2 separate regions of the Homo sapiens genome follow, and region 2 is linked to region 1. Evidence: promoter capture Hi-C in 16 types of primary human blood cells and fetal thymus (Javierre and others, 2016). All regions are on one chromosome and are shown on one strand. Each heading gives the region's core, a stretch centred on a gene start or on the middle of the fragment in contact. The rest is flanking DNA. Distances are from core to core; before and after follow the strand shown. Region 1 holds the start of RNF175 (ring finger protein 175). Region 2 has its middle 42 kb from the start of TRIM2.

Evidence for each region. Contacts are between HindIII fragments. The CHiCAGO score rates a contact against its expected background, and 5 or more counts as called.
Region 2: a fragment that was not itself captured here is called in contact with the fragment with the promoter of RNF175 in region 1 in 1 of 17 cell types (monocytes); the score reaches 5.2 in monocytes.

What each region holds. Positions count from the first base shown.
Region 1 is chr4:153,757,874-153,763,295 of GRCh38, forward strand. It overlaps RNF175 (ring finger protein 175), which reads right to left and starts at 2,151. Exons shown (of 9, transcript NM_173662.4): 1 at 1,924-2,151. The coding sequence starts at 1,989. The HindIII fragment of the contact is 8,763 bases long and covers 1-5,422 here.
Region 2 is chr4:153,160,084-153,165,433 of GRCh38, forward strand. It overlaps a transcript of TRIM2 not described here. Among named protein-coding and RNA genes, the nearest start is that of TRIM2, 42 kb to the right of the region's middle. The HindIII fragment of the contact is 747 bases long and covers 1,208-1,954 here.

The DNA.
Region 1 (5,422 bases), core at 901-3,400:
CCAGTAAGGTATGCTGGAGTTAGGGTCTTACATCATAAGATTGTACGTTACTGTTCATTTATTCATTCAATAAATATTTATTGAGGCCCTGCCGTTTGCTGAGACTGTTCTAGGTCCTGGAAATACAGGAGCGAGCAAGGCAGACCACATGGCTTTTCTGCTGGAGCTTTCATGCTGAAGGAGGTTCTTAGACAATCAAATACACACATAGACATACTTCAGGTAGTGATAAGGGTGATGAAGGAAAATAAAATAGGGTGAGGTTCAAACCAAAGGGAAGCTATCAGATAATAGGCTGGTCAGTAACTATCTCTGTTTTCACTTTCTTATCCCTAGCTCTAGTAAAGTCAAGAAACCAGCACTTCTTGAACTTTGATGTGCAAATGAATCACCCTGGGATCTGGTTAAAATGCGGATTTCAATTCAGTGGGTCTGGCGTGGGAACTGAGACTGCATTTTTAACAGGCTCCCAGGTAATGCCTTGGCTGCTGGTTCCTGGACCACACTGTCTTGCCATATGGGATTAAGGGAAAAGCTGTGAGTCCCTCCTAGGGCAGCCTCAACAGAGAGGCCATACCTCCTGAGGGCAGCAGACTAGGCAGTGATGCCAGCCTTAAGGAAGAGCAAAGATCAGCAGCAAATCCACCAGTACTAGATCCTCTGACACTCCTGGCATGCATTCATCAATTCAGAACCTCCCTTTCGATAATCTGGGTTTGAAACCAGCAAGAAAGTCATGGAGTTTCATTTTAAGTTTCCCCATTTTGTGGTACACAAGCCCCTCCACAGCCTAGCCCACCCTTATTTTTTGCTATAAGCATTCCTGACCCCTAGGTTTCTGGCAGTCAGAGTGGACAGTCCCCTCTCTCTGCCTTGTCCCATGGCCATCCATCCCAATATTAAAAAAAAAAAAATCTCCAAGCCATTTGGTACTGTTGTTCCCTCCATCTAGAATTCTCTGGCCCATGAGGTCAGATCCTGTCCATTCCCCAACACCCAGCTCGAATGCCACGCCCTCACGGGTTGGAGGAGAAGGGGGTTAGTCAGGAGCAAGCCCTTCTCAGAAATCCTACAGTTCTTTGCCTGAACCTATTTTGGGACATTAATCTCTTCCTACCCGCTCTGTGAGTGATTTTTGTTGTTGTTTAAGAGTTATCTTTGCCCTTAAGAGTTATTTTTGTCCTCGTTTTACGGATGGGATTTGGGTTCCTCCAGGTAAGACCTACCCTCCTCCACCCCCAAATCCTCCTGGTACCTGGATGTAGCCTAAGAAGAATTGTCCTATGAACGAAGAATAAATTAAGATTGGGTTTGCAATTGACGCCAGCAGAAGCAGAAATGGGCTAGGTTGAGCACCAGGCAAGACAAGCTGACGATCAGGGTACACATCTTGAATCAGAAACCCTGGGCACAGACCAGCAGTCTGCGTGGTAACAGGCCCTCCGAGTGATTCTGATGACACTCGAGTTTGAGAACCAGGGCGGTCTAGCCAAAAGCCTGCAGTACACCCCTTCCCCTCTCTCGCAGCTTACGACCTTGACCCTGGGCTCTGGGGGCTTCCGCCGAGGAGGGAGGAGGGCACAGGCGGTCACAAAGGAGGGCGGGAGTGGAAGGGGTGAGCCTGGAAGAGAAAGTGCGAGGATGCGAGAAGAGGGATGGAGCGAAGGAAGAGGATCAGAAGGAGGAAAGGAAGGTAGCGGGGAGGGCACAGAAGTGGGGAGGGAGGGAGTGGAGGAGGGACTGGCACCCCGCACGGTGGCATCTTCCAGAAGGTCATGCGTCCGTCCCCACGTCTTTCCAGGGCCGGTTCTCCCCGGTGGGGCCCGGGGTCTTGGAGACCAGTCTGTGCAGCCTGCCCGGCACCAGCGTGAGCCCCGGGACCCCGGCCTGGCGTCCCCCACGCCCGCGCCCCCGCGCCAGTACCTGCTCCTGCTGCGGGGGGGCCTCCAGCACCGGCGCTGCCTTCCGCGCCGCCGTCCCCGCGGCCATGCCTGAGCCACTGTGCCTTCTCCAGGGCACAGCGCCTGCCGGGGAGGGTCCCGCAGAGTCCGCAGAAGGAGGCGCCGCGGGGCCTCGGGAGCCGAGGGTGAGAGCCGGATCTGCGGCGGCGGCGGAGCGGCGGCCCTGCCCGGGTTGTGCGGGGCGGGAGATGGGAGCCTCCCGGCACGCCCCGCCTCCGCCCCCTGCACGCTGGCCAGCGTCCTCCCCAGCAGCGGCCTCGAGGTCCCGGTCGCCAGCACCCCGGTTCCTTCAGAACCTCAGGCCTCCCATTCAGCCAGCCATTGTCGCCGATAAAGCGTCTTGAGCCCTACCGGGTGCGTGTGGCGGGAACCCCGGTTTTGTTACCGGGCGGCAGGACTGGAGGAGGGGTCAGAGGTGGGTAGGGAGAGAGAGGGGAGTAGAGGAGTGAGAAATGGCGGTGGGGGGGCGAGGGGTGCTGGGGAGGAAGAGAAGAGAGAGAGAGAGTTTCCTCTCCCTCAGAGGTGTTTATTAGGAGGCAGGAGTTCGGGTGGCTGTGCAGATACAGACTTTCCTCAGTTATCTGTGCTTCCTCCAAAGATGATGAAGGAGAGAAACTCCAATCTAGGGAGAGCGCAGACCATCTTGGCCCCTATGCTGCTCCAGGCCATGCAGGGCCCCTGCGACGCAAGCATCTTGCCTTTGCCCCTCTACCTCCAGGGTCTCCCCTCCCGCCTTTACAACTTAGGCCTAAGCCTGGCTTCAAGGTTGAGAACAAGCTGGAACGTTTAGGCAAGCCTTTAGAAATACCTGGGTGTTGATTTGGGGAAACAGAAAAGAGGAGCACAGAATTAGATGATGTGTCCTACGAAATACAGCTTACCCCTTTCCAGTTTGTGATGGCTCGTATTTGTCAACACCTACAAAGGAGGTGAACAGACCAAGATGGACATTTCTCTGCCATTGTGGAACGTAGAGCCTAACAGGGGATAGAGAAAAATAAGCATCTAAGTACAATTTATCACGGATGGTGCCTTGGTTTTCCAGCCTTAACTGGGCATCAGAATCCTATGGAGGAATGCTGAGTTTGTTAAAACTCAGAGTGCTGGCCAAGCACAGTGGCTGATGCCTTTAATCCCAGCACTTTGGGAGGACAGGGCGGGCGGATTGCTTGAACCTAGGAGTTTGAGACCAGCCTAGGCAACATGGTGAAGCCCCATCTCTATAAAATATACAAAAGTGAGCTGGGCGTGGTACACCTGTAGCCCCAGCTACTCAGGAGGTTGAGGCTGGAGGATCGCCGGAGCCCGGGAGGTTCAGGCTGCAGTAAGCCGTGATGGAACCACTGCACTTCTGCCTGGACAACAGAGCGAGACTCTATCAAAAAACAAAACAAAAATCTTCAGATTGCTGGAGTTGAGCCCTAGAGTTTTTAATATAGTAGGTCTAGGGTGGAGCCTGAGCATTTGTCTTTTGAACAAGTTTTCAGGTGCCGCTGGGGCTGTTACCTACATCTGAAGACTACCTTGTAGCATGATCAGAGTGTGTTGGAAAGAGTGTCTGAGATGGAGAGAACAGTGGATGCAAGGGCCGGAATGCTGGAGAAGGCATAATGAATTGGAGAAATAAAAATCATGGTTAACATTGATAGAATGCTTACCGTGTGCCAGGTGCCGTCCTGAGCACTCTACCTGTGTTAGCTCATTCAGTCTTCCTGACAATCCTGTGAGGTGGGCATTGTGACCGTCCGTGTTTTACACGGGAGAACACTGAAGCACAGAGAGGTCCAGAAGTTTGTTCAAGTTTTGAAGCTAATAGGTGGGGCAGTGGGAATTTGAACCCAGACAAAACTGACTTCATGGTCTGGGTTCTTAATCTCTCAAGGAAGTAGCTGCGAAGGTCAGCAAGGGCCAGATCCACATAAATCATATTAAACAGTTTGGACTGTAGCCTCAGGAGAATGAGAAGCCATTACCGAGTTTTAAGCAAGAAAATGACATTACCAGACTTGCCTTTTGGCTTCAAGAGTGGGGAAGAGGGCTATGACTATGACTCAAGACAGAGAGACCAGCCAGAAAGCTATTGCTGTAGTTTCAGCTCTAAGGATGACAGTGGCCTTGGTGGTGAGAGTGTGTGCGGGGACAGAGTGGAGGGGAGATGGAGAGATGTGTTTGGGGATGGGAGATCTAGGTAATAGAATCTACTGTACTTGACTCATCTCCAAGGATGGTGCCCAGGCATGTGGCTTGGGCAGTCTAGCATTTGGGCAGACAGTGCTGCCATTGCTGAGAATGGGAACATTGAAAGAGCAGCAGATTTGGGGACACAAAAATAGTGGGTTCATTTGGACATGTTACTTCTCTACCTATCTTGTGGCCTGCCTTCATGTGGCAAGAGCCATTTTTTCTCTCCAGCCCAGGATATCCTCACATTCATCTAGATTCTCCCAAGGCAGCAAAATAATAAAATGAAAATAGTCCATATGGAGATAGATGTTCCCTTTCTATAAAATTCTGACCTGTTATTGTTATATAAGTCTCAGGTCCCAGATTTGAAACTCTCTCTCCTGATTGATTGGCACCAAAAAGACCCACATACTTCACTGGAGACCCATGTATGCACAAAGGTATCATCTTCCTTCTGGCTTCAGCTCAGCAATCATATCAGAATAAAACTCAAAAAGTGCATTTCTTCCCCATCAGTAACGATGGCTTTGCTCTAATCTATCCTCCTCTTATACCTGGTTTCTTCTATGATCAAATTGCAGATATTCAGAATGAATATTTAATTTCCCAGTCAGTTAGGCAATGCTCTCTGGAGTAGTTCACTGAAACAAGGTTAATTAATTTGAAATTTTGTTTTCCAAATCAAATGGTTGGCGGCTGACTCTGTCTTCTGTCCTGGAATAGATGAACTGTATTCTGCTGCTTAACACTAATCTCTTCAGCATTTTATCTGTAGTCTGTGCATCCTTCTTCATGTCCCGCAATGTAGAGTCCTGAGGTGGTTGTAATGATGTAATGGAAGAAATTAGCTAATGTGGTAAATGTGTTTGAGAAACAAGGTGGGGTCAAGAATCACTAGTCAGTTGATTGTCATATTTGGTGCAGGAATCAACAGACTCAAGGAACAGAATGGGCACATACATTTATGGAAAACTAGTTTCATGAGAGGAGTAGCAAATCAGCAGAAAAAAATAGATTATTTAGTAACTGGTTTATCCATAAGAAAAAAAAATTATACCATACCAGCACAAAACTGGTGGTTAGAAAGCAATAGTTTATCTAAAAGAATGTTTTTATGGTCTCAAGATAAGAAAAGATATATTAAACAAGACTCACAAAGAACAAATGGCAAAGAAAAAAGTTTGCCTGTATTAAAATGAAAAATTTCTGTACAACAGAAACTTGCGGTTAAAAAAGAGGCAAGCCATGAACCAGAATATATTTGTATATAACTCATT
Region 2 (5,350 bases), core at 331-2,830, 600 kb before region 1:
GTGCAATTTTTAGAATATGAGTCAGTTACAATCTTTACACTGCAGTTTTGAACCATCTTTTTATGACCTTCTAAGCGAAATATTTCTCTGAAAATTTCCCCTGCTTTCCCTCTCCCCTTTCCTTAATTCCCTTAAGTTAGTCTTTGTTAAGCATTATAATTGAGTAGAGTAAGCTGTGTTATCTAACACTTTTCTACTGCTTTTACAAGCACAAAGATGAATCGGAGATTCAACAAAGCTTCAAGGTTCTAGAAATAAGCGCTTTTGAGACAGGCGAGCAAAAATCACCAATCTCATTAGCTTCTCCAAAGGAAACAAATAAGTCTTGTGAGCTACTACTGGGATTTTTAGAGTTTTCCAGGCCTCATTTTAAAGAGATGGGGACTCACTGTGTTGTCCAGGCTGATCTTGAACTCCTGGCCTCAAGGCATCCTCCCACTTCAGCCTCCCAAAGTGCTGGGATTATAGGCATGAGCCACCATGCTGGCCATCTAGGCTTCAAGGGATGTTTGTTTGTTTGTTTGTTTGGAGACAAGGTTCCCACCCTGTTGCCCAAGCTGGAGTACAGTAATGTGATCATGGCTCACTGCAGCCTCAACCTCTCAGGCTCAAGCGATCCTTATACTTCAGCCTCCCAAGTAGCTGGGACTATAGGCATGCACCACCACACCTGGCTAATTTTTAAAATTTATTTTTTTCATAGAGACAAGGGTCTCTGTATGTTGCCCGGGGCTGATCTCAAACTCCTGGGCCGAAGTGATCTGAGCCTCCTGCTTTAGCCTCCCGAAGTGCTGCAGTTACAGGCGTGAGCCACCATGCCTGGCCAGGCTTCATTTTTAAAAAGGGGAGGGGAGGGTTGGGAGCTAGCTCTCTGGCTCACAAACAATAATGACTTCAATTTCTGTTCTTTCAATTGATTTTTATGTTTCCCTGGGAGGGAGAGGAAGACTAGGCATGCTCATCTTGCCAAAGTGATTAACTCTTCATTGGCCAGCCTCTTTGGACACCCATTTACTGCTCATTCTCTAGTATTCTAAGGAACAAAGATTTTGTTGTACTTTAAACTAAAATAGCTTGTTTGTTCTAAGAACGTAATACTAAATTTTGAGATGGAGACTGTATTTATACAGAAACACTTTGCAAGCAAATGTTTATAACCAGCCCCTACTGCTTTTACAAGCACAGAGATGAATCAAATATACACAAAAGCTTTGTGCTAGAAAGAACCTCCATGAATTGAACGTACGTGCTATATGGTAGGCATCATTCTTGTCACTGTGCATGCATGATCCCATTCAGCCTTAACAGTTATCCTATGAAAAGTTATTATCCTCGTTTTAGAGATGAGAAAACTGAGACTTAGAGAGATTGAGTACATTTGCAAAGTCGCTAGCTGTTAAAAAGCAGGTGCAGGAGTTGGAGTCATGTCTGTCTGAATTTAAAGCCGTTGCTTTTCCTGATATACTCTGCATATGACATGATGCACAGCAGAATCCTTGGGAATATTCTGCTCCCCTTGGAGTTCCCTGCTTAGTGAGTGCTTCGTGCTCAAAGAACTCTCACAGACAACGCTAGTACACTTATTAGTTTTCTTTGTATCCTTTGGTTCTCACAGGCCAACTGCTACAAGGCAGGTCCAACAAATTTCCTAGATGACTGAATATTGGGCAGTATTCCAAGGTGGTCAATTATGTCTAAGACTCACACAAAAGCATTAGCAAGGATTGCTCCATGGATCAAGAGCAAATCAATGTACAATTGTCCTCTGCAGCTAACTTATTAGGGAACATAAAGTTGCAATATTTCACTGGAAACTTCCATCCACTAGAAAAAAATGAGTGCTTAAGCAAATATGGCCAGACTCTGATTATGATTAAGCATAAACCTCCGAAATGAAATTCGTGTGTACATTCTCTCTGCGTGGGACCAATTTGGCCAGCTTACTTTAAGGAAAAGCTTTCTGTTGTCTGCATTCTTGCCAAATTTCTAAACTTTCAAGGGTAAGGACTGTAGTTTTAACTCTTTATTCTGGCATTTAGTCATTTAGCTTACTGCTTGGCATATAGTACATCTTCAAGAAATACTTGTTTGGATTGAGTGTATCAGGGTTCTCCAGAAAAACAGAACCAGTGGGAAATATATACATATAGATATATAGATGATATAGATATAGATGATATGGATATTGATATATACAGAGATTTATTATAAGGAATTGGCTCATATGATTATGGAGATAGACAAGTCCAATCTGTAGGATGGGGCAGCATGCTAGAGACCCAAGGAAAGCCAGAGTTCCAATTCCAAGGCCTTCAGTCAGAAAGAGCTGATGCTTCAGCTGAAGTCCACAGACCATCTGCTGGAAAGTTCTCTCTTACACAGGAAAGCATTCATCCTTTTGTTCTAGTGACACCTGCATTAGTTAAATAAGATCCACCCACATTATGGAGGGCAATCTTCTTTACTGATGAAAACGCTAATCTCAGGCAAAAAGACCCCCATAGAAATACCCAGAATAATGTTTGACCAAATATCTGGGCACTGCATGGCTCAGGCACATAGACACATAAAATTAGCCATTACAATGAGTGAATGAGTAAATAAGAAACAGTAGTTTCTGAACTGTGGCAGAGCAAGTGGACTTCAGGCATTGGCCTCTGTTGTAGCCTTGAGTTATACCACACCTCAGTAATAGGAAGAGCTCTTCTTTCCAGTGAGGCAGCACCAACAGACTATAGGGCTTGAACCCAAGATGCCACCTGAGGGGAATTCTCATGTGGCCACTTGTGTCCAAGTGATCAGTTACCACTGAATTATGTGAATTAAAGAAACAGGTTGGGACATGGACCATGCTCTCCAGAACTGAGGGTGAAAAGGGTGTCTTTCTAAGAGGTAAGATTTTTTGGAAGTGGAATCCTATCATGTAAGACCCTAGTTTTTCTAAGAATTTGTGGGAAAAAAATAACCTTTACCTGAGTGTATGTAGCCACATTTGACTGCTTTGTTTAGTTGATTTAATGCAACTCAGTGGTTACTGTAAATATCTGAAACTTGTAGATTATTGCTTCTCTAAAATTATAATGGGATCCATTTCTAGATTTACATCATTTTTTTTTCTTTGAGACAGGGTCTTGCTCTGTTGCCCAGGCTGGAGTGCAGGGGCGCAATCTTGGCCCACTACAGCCTCCAACTCCTGGGCTCAGGCAATCCTCCCATCTCAGCCTCCTGAGTATCTGGGACTACAGGCATGAGCCACCATGCCTGGCTAATTTATTAGTTTTGTAGAGATGAGGTCTCACTATGTTGTCCAGGCTGGTCTCAAACTCCTGGCCTCAAGCTATCTTCCTGCCTCAGCCTCCCAAAGTGCTGGAATTATAGGCATGAACCACTGCACCCAACCTAGATTTACATCTTTTTTTTTTTTTTTTTTTTTTTTGAGGCAGAGTCTTGTTCTGTCACCTAGGCTGGAGTGCAATGGCATGATCTCAGCTCACTGCAACCTCCGCTTCCCAGGTTTAAGCAATTTTCCTGCCTCAGCCTCCGGAGTAGCTGGGATTACAGGCGAGTGCCACCATGCCTGGCTAATTTTTGTGTGTTTAGTAGAGACAGGGTTTCACCAGGTTGGCCAGGCTGGTCTCGAACTCCTGACCTCAGGTGATCTGCCCGCCTCGGCCTCCCAGACTGTTGGGATTACAGGAATGAGCCACCGTGCTCAGCCGATTTACATCTTAAAACGTGCTGCAAACTAAAGAAGCCTAGGAAACATATCCCTGCTTTGTGATTTAAGCTGTATTTTTGTTATTCACATACAAATCCATTTTAGACTGTACCTTTTAAGACAATGTTGTGGGAAAACAAAAAAACTGTTATTAATGATATTAGCATTTTGCTCACTTGGCTTGGGACTGCACAGATTTCTTACTGTGGCAAGTTTTTGTTTATCTAATTTAGTTTATCTGTACAATTAAGCTAACTTCTCCCCGAAAAGAAGCAGTTCTCATATTCTAACTTTGTTTTAATAACTTTTTACTTATATAAACACATGTACTTATTGTTTTGTTTTGTTTTGTTTTGAGACAGGGTCTCCCTCTGTCACCCAAGCTGAAGTACAGTTGTGCAGCCATAGCTCACTGTAACCTTTAACTCCTGGCCTCAAGCAATCTTCCTAACTCAGTCTCCCAAAGTGCTGGGATTACATTTACAGGCATATACCACCATGCTCAGCTCACATGCACTTAATTTTTAAAAATAAGATGGTACTTTTAAAAGCTTATATCTAAATACAGCAGTCTCTTTTCTCCTTACTAAAAGAGGCTTCCTCCCTAAAGACAGCCCCTTTCAACATTCTTAGCCATTCTTCTGCTAGTTGCTTCCATGTTTCTAAAAATTGTCTTCTTTCTGCTATTTCTGTTACATTTTTCATTCTTTTATTCAAATAAGTAATATATTTACATAGTTCAACATTCAAGAAAAAAAAAGATAAAAACAATCAAAGTCTCTTTCCTACCCTGGTCCCCAGCCTCCCGAATTTTCTTTTGGCAGGCAACCAGTATTACCAGCCTCTCCCATATCCTTCCTGAAATGTCCTTGGATATACATATACTACTGATTATTGATAAATTTTTTGTATTATCTGTTGACTCTCACTTATAGTAGATGAGAACTTAGCTTTCTCTTCTACACTCTACTTTCTGTCTTTCCTTTCTTATGACTTACTTATAGTACAAGTCTTGATTACGTCTGTATTTATATTACTAGGACCATGTAAATATTGTCACTGCTGAGTCAAGTAGTTTACTATAGTTGTGTTTCCTTTCATAGGCTGGATTTTTTTTTGTTTTGTTTTATCCAGAGCTAATTATTACTTCATTTTTTTATACTAGATTTTCTATGGGTTTATTGTTAGTCTTCTTCAAATGGTCCAACAGATATGTCACGATTATTAAAGTTTTTTGTTTAATTCAAAACGTTCCCGACACTTTATGGGTTCCACTTCTCCACTCCCTCTGGGATTTTCCTCTCTTAGTTCTCAATCCCACCCCAATTTGGACTGGTTTTATTTCCGCCCCAAGATGCTATTGTTTGGGGCTTGCTTTTGTAATTCTTCTACATTAGATTCTCTTTTCCTAGAACCCCATATCTTTTCCTTGCTTGGTTTAATTCTGTTTTTCTGAAATAAATCCTCCAGTAGTTTCTTAAGAAAGGATACATTGAAGGTAATTTTTGAGCCCCTTGCTTTTTAGTTTTTAAATTTTTACTTATTTTGAGACAGGGTCTCACTCTGTTGCCCAGGCTGGAGTGTAGTGGCATGATCATGGCTCACTGCAGCCTCAACCTCCTGGGCTCAAGT